Regions from separate parts of the Homo sapiens genome. Here region 1 is linked to region 2. Evidence: promoter capture Hi-C in human tissues and cell types (Jung and others, 2019). All regions are on one chromosome and are shown on one strand. The core of a region is centred on a gene start or on the middle of the fragment in contact, and the rest is flanking DNA. Distances in the headings are between cores, read along the strand shown. Region 1 holds the start of OXA1L (OXA1L mitochondrial inner membrane insertase). Region 2 holds the start of CHD8 (chromodomain helicase DNA binding protein 8).

Region 1 (5,457 bases), core at 259-2,758, 1.3 Mb before region 2:
ATGTCCAGGGTATATTCCCCTTACATGCAGCAATGGCCCCCCACCAAGGTAGGCCCAGATCAACATGCATAAATTCCAGTAAATTCTGGATCAGTCCCACTGGGGTGTATGACCCCAGCCCCAGTTCAGCGAAGCTCTGCTCTGCAGCAGTTTGGACTACATCTGCAGTCTCTCCAGAAGCCACCTCAGGTACTGCTGTGGGTGAGGGAGTTGCAGCAACAACAGGAGGGGCCTGAACCTGTGTGAAAGAAAGCCTTGTATTATATTTATTCAGTAGCGAACACAAAGCAAGTGAGATCTTTTTATAATAACCAGTACTGGGTTCTGTTCTCTCTACTTCTTGTTCTTCCAGGTTAGCCTAGTGTCTGCAGATTTCAAGCTTAAAAAGGACATCTCATTTTTATCAATAGTTAGGAAGAGAAGTTACTTTGAGTAAGAATCCATGACTTCCCTTCATGCTGGGAAGTTATTTCTTTTATCACTGTTTTCCAAACTTCAGCCATTTGAATATCACTATCATGATTTTTGCCATATATTAACATGAAACAATTGCTTTTCTTTAAAACAGCTCAGAAAACCAAATATAACATCTCTCCTGTTGTACTTTCAATCATTTCCCCACTGAATTGAAAATCCATCCTAAGCAGAGATGCTATCATTTTGGAGAGCTGTGTGGAGCGTGGACAAGAACTCTGCTCCATATTCCCCCTGCTCCCAAACAAAACAAAATATGAAACCAACCAGGAAACACCACTCCTAATATTGCAGGAACGAAAGGCCTCTTACCTGGACTTCTGCAAAAGAGATAGCAGAGGTACTGAGGCTGCGGGGGCCGGAAGCCGCAAGGAAGAGGTAGTGTGGGCGACAGCAGCACGGGGCTGCTGGGAATAGGAGCCGTGTGGTCAGCGGTTTCCCAAGCCATTGCGAGGGCCCTGCGACGCTGTGGACCTGAGCGTGTAAAAGGATGATGGAGCCCCTTTACCGGGAGCAGAAGTCCTCGCGTGGGTGCAAACGGGATTCATTATGCTAACTCCCCAAGAAGCAGGCAGCTCGGCCACTACAGGGGAGGACATTGCTATCACCGCGCGCAGACCGCTAGCCCGAAGGCATGCAGCGGGTGGTGCCTGCAGAGCGAAGCTCGAACCTGGGTTCCCCGCATCTCAGTTATCGCAGACCCACATCGGAGGGCCCTGAGAACGAGGCCGAGGTGCTCTCGCCAGGAGCCAAGCCAATTCCAGAAGCTGACACCGGGCTGCTGGGCCCATAGTGTCGGGGACTAACCCTAGCGCGTCCTCACATGACCCGAGGTCATGACATTCAGGTCCCGGTGAGCAGGTCAGCGTCTGCTGATACCCCTAGCACGAGCTGTCCTGGGGCCTGGTTCACTGGGTCAGGGCAGCATCCCGGTGCTCTGCCCCGGGGCATCCTTACCCGACGCCCGGACTGTAGCAAGCGCAGAAGCTCCCGGCGTCCGCACATTAGTCCCATCGCCATTTTGCCCGGAAGAGGACTTGCTTTTGCGCCTGCGCAGTAAGAACCACAACCCCTCGAGAGGAAGCACTTTTGGAGGCGGGCATGAAGCCAGAATTGTAGCCGCAGATCAGGCGGTAAAAGAGAACGGAGCTTGGCGGCCATATTTGAAGTGGGTAAAAATCTGTAAAGCCACGTTACCATTAGCACGCAGAGAGCCTTTTCTGGAGATTGAAAGGAAGTTGAAGAGCTGGGTTAGCTATCATCGTAAGCTATCATCGTTAGTGATGGCGTAAACCTGGGTAATTTTCCTCTAATGTCGCGATTGTCCTCTGATTTGTAAGTTTAAAAATAGCCTCAGAAAAGGCTTGGCTGTACTTGCAGAGGATTTTTCCCACTCAATGATGTTCGATTCTTTTGATTCTTATTGCTAGGTAATATTGTAATCGCAGGTCCAGTGAAATTTGAGGGTAGTCTAGAGTCTGACAGAAATTAAAAGAAGGCAGCTTCTGGGAAATATTTTCCTCCCAGATAAAAAGACGAAGCTTCCAGAGGAGACTTCACCTTTCCATTTTTTTCTTCTGTAAGTGGGGTGGTGTGAGGACTGACCATGAGGGGACAAGTTTCCAGATGAAAAGCTCACGTGCAGGCCGGGCGCGGTGGCTCAGGTCTGTAATCCCAGTACTTTGGGAGGCCGAGGTGGGTGGATCACGAGATCAGGAGGTCGAGACCATCCTGGCCAACATGGTGAAACCCCATTTCTACTAAAAATACAAAAATTAGCCGGGCGTGGTGGTGGGCGCCTGTAATCCCAGCTACTCGGGAGGCTGAGGCAGGAGAATCACTTGAACCCGGGATGCAGAGGTTGCAGTGAGCCGGGATTGTGCCACTGCACTCCAGCCTGGGCAACAAGAGCGAGACTCCGTCTCAAAAAAAAAAAAAAAAAGGAAAGAAAAACTCACGTGCTGAAGATGGTTGAGGGCAAAGATAGAAAACACCCAAATACTTGATGATATCATTGAGCTGCTGTACCATGCTTGGAACTGCCTATCTCCAGACTTTGTTGTGTAAGTTAATTAAAGGTCTTGGCCGGGTGCAGTGGCTCATACCTGTAATCTCATCACTTTGGGAGGCTGAGGTGGTCTCGATAACTAGGTCAAGAGATCGAGACCAGCCTGGCCAACATGGTGAAATCCTGTCTCTACTAAAAATACAAAAAACAAAAAAACAAAATAACTAGGCGGGCGTGGTGGTGCATACCTGTAGTCCCAGCTACTAGGGAGGCTGAGGCAGGAGAATCGCTTGAATCCGGGAGGTGGAGGTTGCAGTGAGCCGAGGTGGAGCCACCTCACTCTAGCCTGGGCGACAGACTCCATCTCAAAAAAAAAAAAAAAAAGATGATTAAAGGTCTTTACTGTTTAGACTCTAAGTCTGTTGCTTGGGTGTTCTGTTTCTTGAAGTTAAAAGCATTCATCTTCAGGGAAAAAAGTTACTGGTCAGAAAGGTGGAGTTTGATTATGTTTGAACCCTTACAAAGTCTCTCAATATGCAGATTACTTTCTAAACAACAAATTATAGTTTCAGAAAGATACAATAACCTGAAATTATTTCAGTGACTGCTCATTTGGAACGATTATGAATGTACCTGACAGATATGGCGAAAATAGGAGGCAAAGAACTATAATACTGATTTAGTAATAATTAGTGGTATGAGCTAACACTTGCATATGTTGGATGCTATTATAAACATCAATAGATTTTTGATATGGAAACACTGATTTTTTTTTAGAGATTACTTTTAAAACTCAATACAATTAGAAGTAATTACAAATATACAGCTACAGAACACTTGGCAGGGTGACTATCTTACAGTACACTGCTACTTTGGTGGCCCCAAATGAACCAGGCTTCCCAATATTTGCACCTTTAGGAGTTCTCTTCTCTTGAGTCTGATTGGGCCTGTCACTTGCTTTAATCAATAGTAGAATGCGTTGGAAGTGATGTTATGCCAGTTTGGGACTATGCCTTAAGAAGGCCTGATAGCTTCTGTTTTTGCATTCGGGGGAAGCCAGCTGCTGTGTTAGAAGTTTGACTTCTCAGACTTACTGCCTGTGAAAAGCCCAACCAACCATGTGAAGAAGAACTGAGGTTTGGGCCAACAGCCTCAGTTGAACTCCCAGCCAGCAGTCAACACCAACTTTTGCCAGCCACGTGAAGAAGGCCATTTAAAAAGTGGATTCTCCAGCCCACTGGAGCCACCTCAGGTGACTGCGTGTGGAGCAAAGAAAGGCTATTTGAGCCCACATTGCAAAATTACAAGCAAATAAATAAAATTATTGTAGTTTTAAGCCACTAAGTTGTTTAATAATAGATAGCTAAAATGTACAGGCAAACTTGGAAGATACTGTGGGTTGGGTTCCAGACCACTACAATAAAGCCAATATCATAATAAAGTGAGTCACAGGGATTTTTTTGTTTTGCAGTGCATATAAAAGTTATGTTGGGCCGGCATGGTGGCTCAGGCCTGTAATCTCAGCACTTTGGGAGGCTGAGGCAGGTGGATCGCTTGAGCTCAGGAGTTTGAGACCAACCTTGGTAACATGGTAAGACCCCATCTCTTAAAAAAAAAAATACTAGGCCGGGTGTGGTGGCTCATGCCTGTAATCCTAGCACTTTGGGAGGCCGAGGTGGGTGGATCACTTGAGGTCAGGAGTTTGAGACCAGCCTGGCCAACATGGTGAAACCCGTCTCTATTAAAAATACAAAAATTAGCCAAGCGTGGTGGTGGGCACCTGTAATCCCAGCTACTTGGGAGGTTGAAACAGGAGAATTGCTTGAACCTGGGAGGTGGAGGTTGCAGTGAGCCGAGATCATGCCATTGCACTCCAGCCTGGGCAACAAGAGTGAAACTCCATCTCAAAAAAAAAAAAAGAAAAAGTTATGTTTACACTATACTGTAGTCTCTTAAGTGTGCAATAACATGTTTAAAAAACAATGTACATACCTTAATTTGAAAATATTATATCGCTTAAAAATGTTGATGATCATCTGAGCCTTCAGCAAGTCATATTTTTACTGGTGGAGGGTCTTGCCTTGATGTTTGTTGACTATCAAGGTGGTGGTTGCTGAAGGTTGGGGTGGCATAAAATAAGACAATGAAGTTTGCTGCATCAATTGACTATGCTTTTCATGAAAGATTTCTCTATAGCATGTGATGCTGTTTGAAAGGATTTTACCCACGGTAGAACTTCTTTCAAAATTGGAGTTAGTCCTCTCAAACCCTGCTGCTGCTTTGTCAATTAAGTTTATATGATATTTTAAATCTTTTGTTGTCATTTCAACAATGTTCATAGCAACTTCACCATGAGTAGATGTCATCTCAAAAAACCACTTTGTCTAGAAGAAGCAACTCCTCATCTCTTAAAGTTTTATCATGAGATTGTAGCAATTCAGTCACATCTTCAGACTCCACTTCCAATTCTAGTTCTCTTGCTGTTTCTACCACATCTGCAGTTACATCCCTCCATAAAGTCTTAGACTCCTCAACATCAACCATGAGGGTTGGAATCAACTTCTTCTAAACTCCAGTTAATGTTGATATTTTCACCTCCTCCCATGAATCACAAATGCTCTTAATGGCATCTAGGAGGGTGAATCCTTTCCAAAAGGTTTTCAATTGACTTTGCCCAGATCCATCATAGGAATTGCTATCTATGGCCGCCATAACTTTACAAAATATATTTCTTAAATAATAGACTTGAAAGTCAAAAGTACTTCTTGATCCACAGGCTAAGGAAAAGATTTTGTGTTAGCAGGCATGAAAACAACATTAATCTCCTTGTACATCTCGATCAGAGCTATAGGGTGACAAGGTGCACTATCAATGGTCAGTAATTTTTTTTTTAATGGAGACTGAGTCTTGCTGTGTTGCCTAGACTGGTCTCGAACTCCTGGCCTCAAGTGATTTTCCTGCCTTGGCCTCCTTAA
Region 2 (5,446 bases), core at 1,329-3,828:
GAAGGTTTTTTTTTTGTTTTTTTTTTTTTTACTACCCAAAAAAACAATCTTTAGCAATTGAGAAGCATTAGAGGATTGGTCAAAGACAGCATTCTGCCTAGAGCTACTGCTTTCAGAGTCAATAAAGGATACCATTTTGATATTTTGGAGCACAGTTTTTTAATATTAATGCCCATATCTTGTTCTATTAACCAAGCCGACTTATGACCTTCTGTACTTGGGTATTGCACCAATTGTAAGGGAAGCATGAGAAAAAAAAGTATCTGGGCAAAATCATCTGTATTCTGAGTGAAGTGGTCATGAAGAATTATAAAAAGTGGATATGCCACCCCATATGAAGAATGGTAGTTATGAAATAATGTCCACTTTTTTTTTTTTTCCATCTATAGTCTTACCAATGTCCATTGGTTTTTGAAGGCCAAGACCATTGGAAATCATACTAAGATCAGTGTAGGTACCAGAAATTGGTTCAGGCACACCTGTTCCCATTTCCATAATATCTATAGCTCCTTTGATGACAGGTCTATTCTGTACCAGATGGATAATAGGCTCTCATCCTAGAAACTATTAATAATTAAGGTTATATCTGTATATGCATTTACAGACAAACACATTGTTCTGATAAATCTTAATACTAACATCAAATTGATATAATGGCAGCAGTAGCCAGGAGAGAATTTGGTTGACAGATTTTTTTTTTTTTTTTTTTTGAGACAGAGTTTCCCGCTTGTTGCCCAGGCTGGAGTGCAATGGCATGATCTAGGCTCACCACAACCTCCGCCTCCCGAGTTCAAGTGATTTTCCTGCCTCAGCCTCCTGAGTAGCTGGGGTTACAGGCATGCACCACCACACCCAGCTACTTTTGTATTTTTAGTAGAGACGGGGTTTCTCCATGTTGGTCAGGCTGGTCTTGAACTCCGGACCTTAGGTGATCCACCCGCCTCGGCCTCCCAAAGTGCTGGGATTACAGGCGTGAGCTACCGCGCCTGTCTTGGCTGACAGATTTTGATACACAGGGAAATGTATTTGGCCAAGTCTTTTTTTTTTTTTTTTTTTTTTTTTTTTTTTTTTTGAGATGGAATTTCGCTCTTGTTGCCCAGGCTGGAGTGCAGTGGTGAGATCTTGGCTCACCACAACCTCCGCCTCCTGGGTTCAAGCGATTCTCCTGCCTCAGCCTCCCGAGTAGCTGGGATTATGGGTGTCTGCCACCACGCCCGGCTAATTTTTTTTTGTATCTTTACTAGAGACGGGGTTTCACTATGTTGGCCAGGCTGCTCTCGAACTCCTGACCTCAGGCGATCCACCCGCCTCAGCCTCCCAAAGTGCTGGGATTACAGGCGTGAGCCACTGCGCCCAGCTTAAGGCCGAGTCTTATCACTCATATGACTTCTTGATGTCTCTGAGCTCCTATCATGTAAGACCATGCAATTATGTTACTCCTTGAGAAATTCCTTTAATAATCTGGAAGGATTCCCTCACTCACAACTTTAAAAAAGATTTCTTGGCCAGGAATGGTGGCTCATGTCTGTAATCCCAGCACTTTGGGAGGCCGAGGTGGGCGGATCACTTGAGGTCTGGAGTTCGAAACCAGCCTGACCAACATGGCGAAACCCCGTCTCTACTAAAAATACAAAAATTAGCTGGGCGTGGTGGCGGGAGCCTGTAGTCTCAGCTACTCAGGAAGCTGAGACAGGAGAATTGCTTGAACCCGGGAGGCAGAGGTTGCAGTGAGCCGAGATCGCCCCACTGCACTCCAGCCTGGGTGACCGAGCGAGACTCCATCTCAAAAAAAAAAAAAAAAATTAGGCCTTTAAAAAAAAAAAGGAATTCCTCCTTAAGTCCTGTTCTTGATTTCCAACTGATTCACAGTGCCCCTACTGGAAAATTTGCAGTGAATCCTAAAGCTTAGTAGCACCTATAATAGATACATGTCCTGATATTTTGAGTGAGGTGTCCATAAAGGATTACCCTAGGAAAGTGCAACTTTCACTCTCATTAGAAGAATTAATTTTTGCTTATTTGATTTGTTAAAATTGCTTTACTCCTACAGTTAAGTGAGAGGGTGGTGGTGGTTGTTGCCCGTAACCACATACGGCATTACTCCAGGGTTTCACGTCGTGACTGAGGGGCCTCCTAAGTGTATACAGCAGAGTATGTTCGGGCTGGACCTAGATAGTCGGACAGAACACCGACAGGGTCTTCACATTCTTTAAGCACTCTCACCCAGTCCCGGAGTCCGAGCCAAGATGGCTTCCCAGAAGTAGGTAACTAAGTGTTGTTTTAGTTCACAGCGCCCCCAATGGCGGGGGTCAAAAAAAGATGCCGAGGGGCCTGGCCGCCTGTGAACTGAGTCGTCAGAGGCGAGCCGCCGCCAGATTTTATTTTCAATCAGGCATATTTGTGGTCGCCTACGTACCCTTCTCATCCTCCTAGGACCTTCCACCCTCAAGAGACTTCCTGGATGGCGCTCACACTAGCTCGCTGGAAGAGGCCGGGCTTCGGTGCTGCCATTGGCGGATGGGAGCGCAGGGGGGCGGAGCCTAGGGAGAATGGACTACTAGCAAGCTAGATTGAGGCGAGGGCTGGCCATGCTCCGCCGGAAGGCGCCTTGTTCTCGGAGAGGGTGAGTTGAAACGCTGCCTGGAAAGGAAGTACCAGGACTTGCACAGGTAGGCTTCCCGCTCGCACCCGCTCCTCAGTGCTGGGCCAGGAGTCAGCAAAAGCTGAGGCTCTCAGAGATTTGATTTAAGTAACTCCTTCTCCTCTCTCTTCCACCCCCTGCTCGCCCCCCAGTTGTGAGGGATCAGGTGCGGGGTGATGCTCCGGACTGAACCAGTCTCCTTTGTGAGAGGCCGGGGGAGAGGGTGGCTGCCGGGCCGCGGGGTCCGAGCCGGGCCGAGCCGCGAGGGACTGCTTGGGACGCTGTGGAGTTTTCAGGGCTTGTCATTGCATTACTGGGCGTAGTGTAGATTGGAGGCGGCGCCTTGTTCTCCTCTCTTCAGAGAAGGGAAAACTCCTCGGCCCCGTTTGGTTACTCCATACTTTGGATTCAGAAATAGGTGGTTAGGGTTTTCTACTTCTTTTTATTTTTTTTTCTTCTGTATTTTAATAATAAAGGTGGGTAGGAAAGCATGGGGTAAGCGTAAGCAGATTGTTACTCATTCTCAGGTGTAAGTTCTGTGGGTCTCCTGGCAGTGAAGAGCAGGCTGTTGGAGAATGTTTAGAGATGGTGGGAAGAGAGGAGCTCAAGCCTTGCATCCTCCTTGACAGGTCTGCAGAGCTCACTGGTTTTCCGTTGCATTATGTAAACTCGTCACTGATAGAAGACCCTTCCCCCTGCTTTGGAACGAATGCAGTTTATTTACCTGTCTCTAGTGTCGCAGGGAATTTCCCTGCAGCAGCTGTATAAATGCAGCAGCCTCTTGCTTTTTAAGGGACAGTCTTGAAGCGGTTAGGGTCTTCACAGAAAAGGTATATAGTGGACCCATCTCTTTCGTATGGCTAAGCAAAGTGAGCCAGAAGTCAAAGATTTAGAACTCTGTCTTTTTCTATTAAAGAATAAACAGCGGAGCGCCCCAAACACAAGCCAGGGGAGCTGCCTTATCAGTGTCTGCTGCATCCTACCATCACAGCGGCGTCTACAGATCGTTTCATCTCCATGCTTTTCTGAGTTTGTCGACTCAGTCAAGGATTCTCAGCCTAGGTTAGCATATGCTGAAGTCATCTGGTGTGGGGCACATTACATATCGAAAGTGAGTTTGTGATTTGAATCGTGTCCTGTGTTAGTTAATTAGATCGTGTCTTCTGCTTAGGAATTTCTTTTGTATTGGTCATCCAATAGGTTTCAGAACAAATTCTAGTCAACCTCATAGAGCAAGATATGAGAAACTTATTTCAAGTACTTTGGAATTATCCCAACCCTTAAAAAAAGAGTTATGATAAGAAAAACATTTTCCATGTAAGAAGACCTTCTGCTGCAAGAGAGGCGTGTCAGTGGATCTGAAGGCAAGTGAAAGATATTGGCCAAAGAGAGAGTAGGCAAGTTTGAAGAGACAGGCTTAGGAGAAAGTTTAAAACTGAAATAGTGGCTCACGCTTGTAATCTCAGCACTTTGGGAGGTGGAGGCGGACGGATCACTTGAAGTCAGGAGTTCGAGACCAGCCTGACCAACATGGTGAAACCCCGTCTCTAAAAGTACAAAAAATACAAAAAAAAATTAGCCGGGCATGGTGACGCGTGCCTGTAGTCCCAGCTACATGGGAGGCCAAGGCATGAAAATCGCTTGAACCCTGGAGGTGGAGATTGCAGTGAGCCAAGATCGTGCCCCTGCATTCCGGCCTGGGCGACACAGCCAGAGGATAGCAAAGGAGTAATGGATTGGGATAAGGGATATAATGGAACAGTGTATGAGTACTTGAACAGTTTTTGTATTCTCCATGTTTGATCTGTCCTGTGCATCTGCTCTTTTGGTTTTGTCAGTTTTCTTTTCTTTTCTTTTCTTTTCTTTTCTTTTCTTTTCTTTTCTTTTCTTTTCTTTTTTTTTGAGACGGAGTCTTGCTCTGTCACCCAGGCTGGAGTGCAGTGGCAGGATCTCGGCTCACTGCAACCTCCGCCTCCCAGGTTCAAGTAATTCTCCTGCCTGAGCCTTCCGAGTAGCTGGGATTACAGGCGCCCGCCACCATGCTTGGCTAATTTTTTTTTTTATTTTTAGTAGAGACGGGGTTTCACCATATTGGCTAGGCTGGTCTTGAACTTCTGACCTCGTGATCCTCCCGCCTCGGCCTCCCGAAGTGCTGGGATTACAGGCATGAGCCACTTTTCTAAGCAAAATTACCACTTAAGATTAAGTTGTGGGTGTCAAAACTGTGTTTGCTTACTGAAGAAATAAGATTTGATATTCTCATATGTGAAAGGACTGTAACATTCAGATGAATGCTAAATGCTTTAGTGAACTGTTTGTCTACAGCTCTGGAAGAGTTAAGCTATCTTCTGAGCTTACATTGAGCCTAATACTTGGGAGGAAAACAGAAGACAAACATTTCTCTCGAGTCTCCACTTTCACCTCTAGAATCTCTCTACTTCTGGAGTTGGATTTGAGCCAGTCCTTGATCTGCAGGTCTTCGCATGACCTGTCCTTACATTACTGTGACCATTGTGGTATAATATTTACTATTTTACCTTTAGCATTTGATTCATTGACAGACTATCATGTTTCTTATCTCACTTTAACTTTTTATATCCCCTCTTACATGATCTATGATCTTTTATTCTTTTGTCTCACCAAGTTGGTGATCTTTTCATCTTCCTGTGATTTTGCTCACTTTCCTTTTCACTTAATTCACTGACGTTGTACACTTTTGCTTCTGTTTAGCTGAAACCTTTTAGGGAATGTAATTTCTGTATTTTTAGTAGAGACGGGGTTTCACCATATTGGCCAGGCTGGTCT

Evidence for each region. Contacts are between HindIII fragments. The study calls those that stand out against the background at their distance.
Region 1: a contact is called between the fragment with the promoter of OXA1L here and the fragment with the promoter of CHD8 in region 2, in 2 of the 25 tissues and cell types used here (dorsolateral prefrontal cortex and hippocampus).

What each region holds. Positions count from the first base shown.
Region 1 is chr14:22,762,739-22,768,195 of GRCh38, reverse strand. It overlaps OXA1L (OXA1L mitochondrial inner membrane insertase), which reads right to left and starts at 1,508. Exons shown (of 10, transcript NM_005015.5): 1 at 1,432-1,508; 2 at 787-948; 3 at 25-238. The coding sequence starts at 1,494. It overlaps OXA1L-DT (OXA1L divergent transcript), which reads left to right and starts at 1,634. Exons shown (of 3, transcript XR_001750638.3): 1 at 1,634-1,772. RefSeq lists enhancers at 1,400-1,629, 1,223-1,786, 1,787-2,349, 2,350-2,913. The HindIII fragment of the contact is 11,434 bases long and covers 1-4,759 here.
Region 2 is chr14:21,453,255-21,458,700 of GRCh38, reverse strand. It overlaps CHD8 (chromodomain helicase DNA binding protein 8), which reads left to right and starts at 2,578. Exons shown (of 38, transcript NM_001170629.2): 1 at 2,578-2,669. It overlaps LOC124903283 (a long non-coding RNA gene), which reads right to left and starts at 2,304. Exons shown (of 2, transcript XR_007064064.1): 1 at 2,224-2,304. RefSeq lists enhancers at 1,178-1,729, 2,006-2,055, 2,066-2,115, 1,730-2,281, 2,146-2,835. The HindIII fragment of the contact is 24,117 bases long and covers 1-5,446 here.